Regions from separate parts of the Homo sapiens genome. Here region 1 is linked to region 2. Evidence: promoter capture Hi-C in 16 types of primary human blood cells and fetal thymus (Javierre and others, 2016). All regions are on one chromosome and are shown on one strand. Each heading gives the region's core, a stretch centred on a gene start or on the middle of the fragment in contact. The rest is flanking DNA. Distances are from core to core; before and after follow the strand shown. Region 1 overlaps NSD3 (nuclear receptor binding SET domain protein 3). Region 2 holds the start of PCM1 (pericentriolar material 1).

The links. The method cuts DNA at HindIII sites, captures the fragments that hold promoters and counts their contacts. A CHiCAGO score of 5 or more calls a contact.
Region 1: a contact is called between a fragment that was not itself captured here and the fragment with the promoter of PCM1 in region 2, in 1 of 17 cell types (non-activated CD4 T cells). The highest score is 5.7, in non-activated CD4 T cells.

The regions. Positions count from the first base shown.
Region 1 is chr8:38,269,024-38,274,999 of GRCh38, reverse strand. It overlaps NSD3 (nuclear receptor binding SET domain protein 3), which reads left to right. Exons shown (of 24, transcript NM_023034.2): 24 at 1-5,296. PLPP5 (phospholipid phosphatase 5) reads left to right here and starts at 5,776. Exons shown (of 7, transcript NM_001102559.2): 1 at 5,776-5,874. The coding sequence starts at 5,801. It also overlaps a transcript of DDHD2 not described here. RefSeq lists a silencer at 5,578-5,976. The HindIII fragment of the contact is 2,614 bases long and covers 2,400-5,013 here.
Region 2 is chr8:17,919,274-17,924,671 of GRCh38, reverse strand. PCM1 (pericentriolar material 1) reads right to left here and starts at 1,684. Exons shown (of 39, transcript NM_006197.4): 1 at 1,484-1,684. It overlaps LOC124901867, which reads left to right. Exons shown (of 4, transcript XM_047422505.1): 2 at 445-515; 3 at 906-1,163; 4 at 1,326-3,644. The coding sequence ends at 2,008. RefSeq lists enhancers at 657-716, 1,867-2,316 and silencers at 1,178-1,472, 4,198-4,492. The HindIII fragment of the contact is 6,694 bases long and covers 1-5,398 here.

The sequences.
Region 1 (5,976 bases), core at 2,457-4,956, about 20 Mb before region 2:
TGGTCTTAAACAAGGTGGGCTTTGTACTATGGTAACTTTACCTAGAAGGGTATATGGTGTGTTTCCTTGGTGGAAGGAAAAAAAGGAATGGATGTGCTCACTGATTTTTAAAACGTTTTCCATTGACATGGATGGTTTGGGTTTTGGATGAAGTGCGTTTCTGTGGATATGAAGCATAGTTGGAATGGTCACTCCTATTTTCCTGACACTGATTAAGGCAGCTAAAGGGGGATGAAGGCATAAACCAAAATTTGGATCATATAAGCACCATTTTCTGTCCAATTTTATTGTAGACCCTGGTCTTAATTGGAGAGAATTACAGGCATTTTATTTTTTGTCTCTGTTTTCCTCTCCTACTCAAACATTTCTTTTGTCATCTGACCATTCAGTCATGTTTCCTGGTAAAACCACACAAGTGAGTTTGAATTGTATTTGAATAGATCTTTTTGGTTGAGTTCCTAATTTGGGGGGTGAAAGTAGTAGGGGCATCCCCAGGTTACATGTAAAGAATTTCTATTATTATCCAGTACTTAAGATTGCTCCCATTGAGTAAGGGGAAGAACTTCTACTTTTACAGGGTGCATAAGAGCCACACAAACACACTTCATCTTAGGAAGCACTTGGAGAAAACTCCCAAGAAAGTCAGTGTTAGCAAAAATGGTTGATGGTGATGCTTGACTCTTATAGATGCGAGTATACCAAGATGTCTGCTCACCAAACTCACTTGCTTTTAATGCTTAGGAATATGTATATTCCAGTATTCCTTGTATGAAAATAATTAGTAATGTCAGACATTGTTGTAACACTGTACTAAGTAGAAGTCTAGGGTTAGCTTGAATGAATGTTAACTTTCTCTGTGAATTTTGACTGCTTACAATTGCTGGTACCTGGTAGCATTTATTTTCCCTCAAGTACCTAGTAACCTTATGAAGGTAGGGAGGGTAGATGCTCTACCACATTCCTTCAGCTGTATTGAGTGTTCCATTTGCTTATCAATTTAGAGCTCTTCTATGGAAAGAGGGTGAAAATCTGTTTTGTGCCTCTTTTTTTTGTATGTAAATGTGCAATTATACTGGATTTTCTCTTGTAAAAAACACTACAATTCTTTTACTGAAGCTCCTAAACTGCCATTTGCCTGACTCCAGCAATTAATTCTGCGGTGACTCATTGGGCTTCCAGTACTTCTGTTGATTAGATATGGTCCCAAAAGAAAGAGCAAAATGGAAAATGCGATCCATGTCACCAAATATAATTGCTACAAGTAACATGAAATACAGCTCACCAAAACACTAAACTTTGCTCTTGAGCAATTATATAGTTTGATGTCCTTTTAAAAAATAAGAAAAGCTAGGTTTTATCATACTAAAATTTTATTTTGTATATGATGTTTGGTTTTTTAAACTTACTAACATAAGGATTTCCTTTAATATTCCAAATACAGTTCTTGAAACAGTATCCAACATGAAATCTTATCTCCTTGCTTTTAGACTTAGTGCTATTTACTATCTAAAGACTTTTCTATGGTAAGCCAGGGTACATCCTATATACTACAGATACCTTAGGTTTCAGTATTTTTATGCAGCTTCTTCATTGTGTCACATTTTGTTTTCATATCTGTAACAGAGCTCTGCTGAAATTAAAAAAAAATTATGATTAATAGGATTGTTTCACCATTTCAGAAATCAGAGTAGAAAACAAAATAGCTGCCAGGTGCAGTGGCTCACACCTGTAATCCCAGCACTTTGGGAGGCCGAGGTGGGCAGATCATGAGGTCAGGAGTTTGAGACCAGCCTGACCAACATGGTGAAACCCTGTCTCTGCTAAAAATACAAAAAGGAGCCGGGCATGGTGGCACATACCTGTAGTCCCAGTTTCTCAGGAGGCAGAGGTTGCAGTGAGCCAAGATCACATCACTGCACTCCAGCCTGGGTGACAGAGCGAGACTCCATCTCAAAAAAAAAAGGTAACCATAGTTCTGAAGTCTTTGGCCATGAATGTTCTTTAATGGTCTAAAAAGCGGTTTTAGTCATGCTGGTGCCAAGGAGTTCTCCTCACACCTCCATAGCGTCAATGTTGACCTATTTGATATATTTTTAAGTTGCAGATTATAGATGCAGAAAGAGAAAATTGTCCTTTATGTGTGCATGAGTATACATGCACTGTGCCTGTGATACACCAATGAAATATTCCAAAAGACATTGCTCACTCATAGTCTGAAGTTGGTATTTGTTAACTTTTAAATCTATATGTGGTCAGAGTGTAAGTGGCTGGTTTTTATTCTTGTCCAACAATGAAATAACTTAAAGCAGCATGGGCTAATGGTGGTATTTTTTTTAACCACATGTTAATTTGTTGAAGGAAGAAGTGAACATAAGATTTTTGATAATCAGCCTAAAGCTTCAGAAACTGGATCAGTAAGAGCTAAAGATGAAATCCTGGGAAACTTTCTCAGGCACTGTGCAGGGGAGGGAGGGGCTGGACCGCCACTGCTGCGAGGGAAGAATCAGAAGAGCTGCCTGTGGCTGGCTGAGAAGGGCAAGGTGGATGGCTCTTCATTCCTGGAAGGCTGAAGCAGCCAGAGGCAGTGATTCACCTCTTTAATGTCTAATCAGGGAGAGATACAGGAGTGAGGTGGGTTTTATTTTCATTTTTGTTTTAACAAGTTCCCACTCTTATCTTAATTCTCAAAAATGATCTGGCCTCATCTATAGAACTGGCTGAGTTGGGGAATCATTTAAAATTTGGGATTTTCTGTACAAGTCAAGAACATATGTGAAAGCTAAAAAAGTAATGGAGGCAGGGGGACTGCTCCCAGCTCCCTTCTGCCATTTACACAAAATATTTGAAAACATGTCTGTAAATAACGTTGTGGAACTGAGATATTGAGTATCTAATCATGTAAAGGACCCTCAGATGGGACAGGCTATTGGACAACTTTCCTGGTTCATGAAGTGGAATTTCCTTTTTGAGTAGTTTCTTGCATGGTGTATTCCAATAGGTCAAACCCAGACCTACTGTTTGCAAACAGGCCATCTGTAGAGAATACAATCTCTGGACTGCCCAGGACTTGTTGCTTGTCTTTCATTTCATTTTAAATACAAAGCTCTTCCTTTAGCATTCACCTTGAAGTCAAGGTGTTGGCTGCCACATGCCATGTCCTCTTAACAAGATAAGAAAACAGTGGCTATGGAGCCCTCACAGCTGGGAAGCTGACATTCTATACTTCCATATGAGAAAAAGGACATTGGAAAGTTGCTTTATTTCTGGGCAGCGTAGACTAAAGTTACTTTTCACAAGGCTGATGCATCCAGCCTCCCCCAGTTGTCCAAGTTGGTGCAGACATGAATTGATGAATGGAAACACTTTCCTTTGGCCTAGGGCCACCTAGAATTGGTCTCTGGTTATTTGTAAAACAAAAAGTAGAACTTGCTTCCATTTTCAGATGGACTAGGGAATACTATAATTAGACAGCTTTGCAATGAATTAACAAATACTGAAAAGTTGGAAATGTGTATATACTGAAATCTCACCAACTTTTACCTGGGGTGGGGTACCAGGAGAAAGGGAACCCCCTTTCTCCTGGTAAAGGGTAAGGGGGGGGATAATGTTTACCACAGGTACGAAATAGTCACTTTAACATTGAGACCTCTGCCTCATTGAATTCAGGTTTTTTAAGTACTTGAAACTCTTCAGATTCTCCTTATTTTAGTTTCTTTTTACATTTATGAAGTAGAAAGCATTGTTTTGTAAACTGTTTTGAAAATAAATAGCCTAGTCTCTTATCCTCTTTAGCGTGGATTAAAGGTGAAGTTCTGCAAATGGGAGAGTGTTCACAGTAGATAGCTCAGATTGATTGAACACATTTGAGGAAGAGACTCCTGCATGAGATACCAGCATTTTTACAAATACTTTTTATGTACATTCTTTATTTTGTCATTTTGTCAACCCTCTCCCCAAGCACATCTTCTTTCCTTTTACTATGTCTATGTAGGGAAAAAAACAAAACAAAAAATTGCACTTACGTTACACTCCCAAAATGTGGGTAATCCGTGTCTTTCAAAAAACATTTCTGTTTTTTGTTTTGTTTTGGTCAGTCCATTGCATAAGTGACAAGTTTGGGTGCTTGTGGCACGTATGTATGAAGCGGGAGGGGGATGAGAATTGCCTGTCCTTCAGTAGGCTGTAAAAGTAATTTACATGTAAGTAAAAAGGGAAAATAGAATAGATGCCAAAGTCATTTATTCAGTCCTTAGTTTTCTTATGTGGCATTACTGCATCTGCTAGTTAGTGAGAAAGCACCCTCAGCTTTTACTGCTCCCCTCCCTGCCTGCCAACACACTTGATGTGTGCAAACAGCCCTCAAGTATCTGTCAGATGACCTATATAAGGTATTGAATAAGGTATTCTTGTCAGTTTAGAAATGGACTGGATAAAACTTACTTGGTTGTCATTATTTTATCTCATTTGTCCTGTTACATGCCCTATGTTAAGATAATTATATTGCCACTAATAATCAAGATGCTAAATGAGTATTACAACTGGCTAATATCATTTTTTATATACAAGGGTATGTGTATATTTGGAATTGATATGAGAAACTCATTTGTACCCATTTGAGTGATATTGCACAACAAACACAGATACCTACAGACTCCGTTTTCATTTTCTCGTGTTCTTTATGATAATGATCTTTGTAGATTGGTTATTTCTGTACTTTATCTGTAATAAACTTTGTAGATCCTGTGAACCATTACTTTGCCTAAATCACTTGAGACTTGAGTCTTTAATAACAAAGCATCAATATTCACTAAAGTCAATCTCTTTTGAGTTTCTGTGACTTGGCTAGAAGCTCTTGACACTAAGGGATTAGTGTTAATTTTCCCTGGGGGTGTTCCACTAGGGCATTACTGTATAATGACTTGATGTTGCCACATAGACTTCAAGATATATAATATTTTGAGGATTTTGTTGATTGGCCTATGTTTTATTGCATAGTGTGAAACGTGTAAAGCTTGGTTAACCTGTATATAGATAGCTTATTGTTGACTAGTTATAGTGTATTTAGGGTTGCCTGTAATATTTAAGCTTCTTTACTGATGTGTGTGCTGGTAGGAACATATAATTTTTGTACATTATATTTACTGAGATGTTGCCTTTTTTATTTTACAAATACTTTGGAATTCCAATGTGTTTTTTGCTTCCGTGAGGATTAATTTGGAAAGGTTTTTAATGACATTCCACTGATTTCAGATTTTGCTTGAGATTGACTTCAATAAATTGTCCTGTATGTTCCAAATTAAATATGTGGGCTTGTTCTTTGCCAATAATTTTTTGCTACAACACTCTGGGCAGGAGGCCATCCTGGGTGGGAGGACTAAATGACACAATCCAGCCAACCTCAGGTAGTGTAGCTTCCTGCAGAATGCGGCTGTGTTGCTAAGGAACGAGGATCTGAGAGCGGGCTGTTTGGTTTTCCATTTAGAGGCGAGGTCCCGGGAGAAGGCTGCTCCCCGCGGTGGTGTGGTTGGGCCGTGGAGACGAGCTGCTGATGATGGACCGTACGCCGACCTACTCGGCTGGAACTGGGGCGCTGGCTCCCTGCTGAACGCACCAGAGGGCAGCTCCGCTGGCTTTGCGTACCCTTTGCCAGACGATGCCCTCGGCACAGCCGCCAGGCCGTCTTCCTGGGGAGCCGCCGGAGCGCGGGCAACTGGGAGAGGGGGCGGTGCCCAGTTCCCGGCCCGGCCCTCCCCGCGGAGGTGGCCACGTCAGCGCAGCGTCGCTCGGAGCTCGCGGCCGGATGGGGAAGGCGGCGGCGGCGGTGGCCTTTGGGGCCGAAGTGGGCGTGCGGCTCGCGCTGTTCGCGGCCTTCCTGTAAGAAAGATCCACGGCCGGGCCCGGGCGGCCCCGCTTCCCAGGCAGGCGGGCGGCACGGGGCGGCGGGTCGGGCAGTGGGGAAGCGGGGAGGAAGCCAGG
Region 2 (5,398 bases), core at 435-2,934:
TACGCTATGAAATACAGAATAAAAAATACTTCAGTTTTGGTCTAAAGTATGTTTAGAAAGATCAAAAGAAGGGGAAAAATATAACTTATTCATATTTTAAATTTAAGTTACCTCAATTCTTTTGGAAAATAGTGTGATATGCATAAATGCTTAAATCCCCTAAACTTCTGAAATCTTACCAAACAGCAAAGTGATATCTATTTCGGAACAGTGTAACAAAGATGGTTAGCCCTAACTATCCTTTAATAGTCTATGCCAAAGTTTACTCCTCTGATTGATCGAGCTTCCTGTTACTCAAACTATGTAACAACCTCGTATATCCGATGATTTTAAAAATGTTTGCTCATTTAAAAGCTACTGTACTTCATAATAAAATAACCTCGTCACTACATAAATACCAGGTTTACCTTCAATTCAAAAACTCTGTATTATATTGGTGTTCAGGGGTCCTCACCAGGAAGGTGCTAGGGAAAGAAAGGAGCAGGTGCACCCGAGGCTCTGCAACACCCACTCCGGTAACCAGAGAACACCAGCAGGCGGAGTCTGGAAAGCGGTTATGGGGCGGGGGTGGTAGGGGCGCCCAGAAAGCCCGCTCCTTCCAGCGCCCAAACACGAACCGTCACCCGTAAGACACACAATACAGACCTCAACTCGCTCAAAAAAACAAAACAAAACAAAAAAAATTAAACCAGGCGAGTTCCTGGGGAGTAGGCTGAGGGATGCAAAGTTGGCGCGCCCAGCCTCCCTGGCGGGGCCTAATCCCCAAACGCCAGTTTCTGTAAACCAAACAACGTTTCCCCCAGTCCCACTTGGCATTTAGTCTTTCCCGGTTCTAGGCCCAATTCTAACTAGATAGGTAGGAAGGGAGAAAGAAGGGGCAATAATTACTCCATTAACCTTCCCAGGAACGCCTCCCCCGGCCCATCGGCTCCCACAGCACCAGAGACGGCGGAAATCCTGCAGCTCACAGCCCAACTGCAACTCTTCAGAGTCGCGTCGCTCCTCATCCGCCCTTCTACACCCCAAACTCTGGACACCGAGAGTTCCACAGAGGGAACGCGGGGAAGAACTATGGCCACCAAGGCCTGTTTCTCTAAGAACTCGACCCAGTGCCCCTAGCACCCAAACCAGAGTCCCCGCTCCGCTTCCTCCGCCCGCAAGGGGTATAGCCGGAGCCACCGGGACGCAGAACAGCCTCCCCGACAGGGCCAGCAGGAGGGGCGAGGAGGCAAGAAGGGAGTCCTGCAATCACCAACGCGTCGCGAGGTGCTCACCCGGGGATCCCGGCGATCAGTCCTGAGGGAGCGGGCGGACTGACCGCCTAGGGCACGGGAAGCCCGGGGCAGGAAGACCCGGGAACCTACAGAGGAGGCGTGGGCCCGTGGCCAGACCCAACAGGGCCGAGTGTCCCGGAGCCGTTACTCTCCCGCCTCTGGGGCGCGCCGCCCTAGGTTGCCAAGGGCTGGGGACGCGCAGGCATTACCTCTACAAGAAGCAGCCTCTCCTGTCAAAGGCAGAGCGACAGTCAGCCCCCACGACCCGCCGCCGGCAGCGGTCGGCCCTCGGAGACCGCAGCAGAGAGGCCCACACGTTTCCTGGCTGCCTCGGCCCCAGTGGCCGCCTTTTCGACCTCAGCTACGCAGCGCCAACCGCCGCAGCCACCGCCATCTTAGGATCTCATTGTGGTGGGAGAAGAGGGGCGGGGGTACTGCAGAGGGGGCAACGCGCGGCGGGACATGCGCCGTCTCCTCGGCAACGGCCGCGCGGGGGCGAGAACTCGCCCGGGCGGGAGCCGCAATGCGAGCTAGACTGGAGTCATGTGACCCGCCGGAGTCTGTGGTGTCGCTTCTGGCTCTTTAAGCCGAAAAGAGATTACACCAACGAATCCGCCCCCACCCGCCCAGGAACTATGTATCCCAGAATGCCAACTAGACCTCGCGTTCTAAACGCCTGCCGGCCACAGGTGGAGGACTACAAATCCCAGCATGCCGTGCGCTTCCGGCGCTGATCGCGGAGCGTGGGGCCCTAGGCCTATGCGGAAGTGCATTGATCCCTCAGCCCGTGGAGAAAGAGCGGAGGCGCTGTGCGGTTTTCCGTGGGGGTGTCAGCTCCGGCCCGTGCCGGAAGAAGGAGCCAAGACCGGGATCGCTTTTTTGCCCCTTCCTCACCCCACATTCGGTCACGAAGAGGTGGAAACAAAAGGACACTTACAATGTAGTCCAACCTCCTGATTTTACATATGAGGGGATTGTTCCACGGAAGTTAAACAATTTGCCAGACGTCATTATGTATCTACTGAGTGAGAGAATCATAAATATTGTTGATAGTTAACGCCACTTTTGGTTAATGTCCCTTTTCCTTAAAAGAGCCAGATGATTTTAATCCAAACTTAATTTCAGTAAATTTTCTCTGAACTATCTTTTTATTTATACTCTCCTGTTACAGCTCTATTAAGATTAATAAATTGGCAGGTCCTCCCTTTAAAAAACAAAAATCAATAAAGTCACAAGGCCTTCAATGTGCCTGACTGGAAAGGTAAAACACCTGTCAGTTTTAGTTGAGTGCAAGGGCATTCTTCTAGTTTTACGCAGTTTATAATTATGGAATAACTTTTTAAGCAAAATAAAGGTAAAAAGAAGAATTGCATTCTGGGTTTCAACAACAAAAACAAATTGTTCCCAAAATAGTAGGTCTGCATCTCAGTACGCAATTCACATAAAGCTCTTCTATCCCACTGCAATCTGCCACCGTAGGTTCAGTCGTGAGTGCATTGATCGTTGGTCAGACACTTTTTCCTCATATTCTGTGTGTGTATCGCTAACTACTGCGGTAGCAAAAATATAGTCCCTGCCCTTGAAGAGCTCATATTTTAGTGAAGGATGCGGAAGTGGAGTGTGATGTAAATAAAGTTTGTGTTGTAAGAAAAAGTGCTGTGGGAGCTCAGAACACAGCAGCTAAACGCTCAGGTGTTTATTGTAGTCCAGAATGCCCTATCCTAATTCCACCACTCCAAGATCCTGGACAAGCGACGTGCCTTTCTGAGCCTTAATTGCCCCATCTATGAAATGAGGGGGAAGGAATGATACTGCCTACCTTGAAAGGATTTTTTAAAAAATGTTCTCAGAGTTTGTTTTATGCCAGGCACACTGTAAAGCACTTCGGCTGTTGTGATTTTCTTGATCCTCACAGTTACCCTGAAGAGGCTGGTTCTGAATCTGACCCGTTTTGGCAATGAAAGATTATATAAATCAAACTTGTAGCAGCTGCAAGTGGTAGAGCCTAAATTTAAACGGAGGTCTATGTGATTCCTTTAAGATTTTTTTTAATTAAATACAACGCATATAAAAACACTAGTATATGTTGAGGCCCGAAATATTAGCTATCATCATTATTTTGCTTTATACATATGTATTATTATTAAACGTATGTAGAAGCTGTTATCATTAAAACAATTCTAATAAATTCAAAAGCGTGAAATTATAATACGTACTAGTCATTATGTTTTCTGAATTTATGAAGCTCCAGAATGTCAATACTATTGTTTATTAGGAGGTAGGAGGAATTTGAGAAATATTTACATTGAAATGTAGAAGCTGTTATCATTAAAACAATTCTAATAAATTCAAAAGCATGAAATTATAATATCTACTAGTCATGATGTTTTCTGAATTTATGAAGCCCCAGAATGTCAATACTATTGTTTGTTGGGAGGTAAGAGGAATTTGAGAAATATTTACATTGAAAAGGGGATCTCAAACTCAAATATGAGCATTACTGATCTTTGTAAGGGAAGAAGGAAAGAAAAAAAACAAGAAGCGATAAAATTATACCTGGCTTTCAGAAATTTAACATCTATTTTTAGAAACAAACTTTATCAGAATGAATCGACTTAGTGTTAATAGTCCGTCACTATGCCAAACAAATGATGTAGACACTGATTGCTGTGGTAATTTAGATTTTTAAAATAGGGATGTTTTGTCTCAGAGATAATGATAGCTCTAGGATTTATAGGTAGGATGAAATTAGGGGCAGCAGTCTGTGGAAATGTAGATAGGAAACAGAAGAATGGCCTCTAAGAGATAAACATTGAAACTGCCTTTCAGTTTTCCACATTCAAGAGAACAACCTAACACATGTATTAAATATGCAGGGGGTGGAAGTTCCAAATTGCAGAATGATGTTCAAGGAAGTGGGATATACCAAGAACACAGATCACACATCCAGAGTAAGCAATGGACAAAAAACAGACTGGCTGAAGTAGAGGATTTATATATGGTAAGTGATGGGGAGGTGGGAGAAGGCAAGGTTTATTACCAGGTTGGGGCCAAACTATAGAAAGTCAACTACTTATCTAAAGAGTGTGGACTTTGTTCTTCAGTTAGTGTGAAACCATTTGAGACTTTGGAAGAGGTCAATGCTGTAATGAAATGGTTATTTGAAGACTTCAATCTAGTGGCAATGTTTTGTAAAGACTAGGAAAAGAAGACAAGGAGAACAGGTGCCAACCTGTCATGAAGTAATGAAGGCTTGGCCTAAGGTAGTAGCAGGATGAATAAAGTAAGGGATTTAAATTTTTATTCACATAAACTAAATCAGTTGTTATGATGTGAAAATACTATTTCTGTTTCTTGATATTTGGTAGGACACTAACCAGGTGGTACTTATAAGATAACACAGCCGGGCACGGTGGCTCATGCCTGTAATCCCAGCACTTTGGGAGGCCGAGGCGCGTGGATCATGATGTCAGGAGTTCGAGACCAGCCTGACCAACATAGTGAAACCCCGTCTCTACTAAAAATACAAAAATTAGCCGGGTGTGATGGCATGTGACTATAATCCCAGCTACTCAGGAGGCTGAGGCAGGAGAATTGCTTGAACCTAGGAGGTGGAGGTTGCAGTGAGCCCAGGTCACACCATTGCATTCCAGCCTGAGCGAGACTCTGTCTCAAAAAAAAAACAAAACACTTGGTGCTATAATGTTTATCTCTTTAATGTATTCTGTATGCTCCTTATCCACAGATGGATTGTAAGCATGTCTGTAACAGAAATCCAGCCGTTTGTACTTTTTAATCTTTGAAAAACAAGTTTTCTGCAATACCTAGTTTTAACCTGCAGATGGTGACAGAACTTAAAGGAAAAATCTTCAGGGACAAATCCACTACTTTATAACTGCATGTTATTTGTTTTTATTATGTGATTTTTTGATACACCCAAAAGAATATATAACATACATGTAAACTCTATAGTACAATACTGACAACTGGGCGCATTATATGCCTGTAATCTCAGCTACTTGGGAGGCTGAAGCTGGAAGATCACTTGAGGCCAGGAGCTCCAGACCAGCCTGAGGAACTTAAGGAAACTGTTTCTACATACATACATACATGCATACATAAAG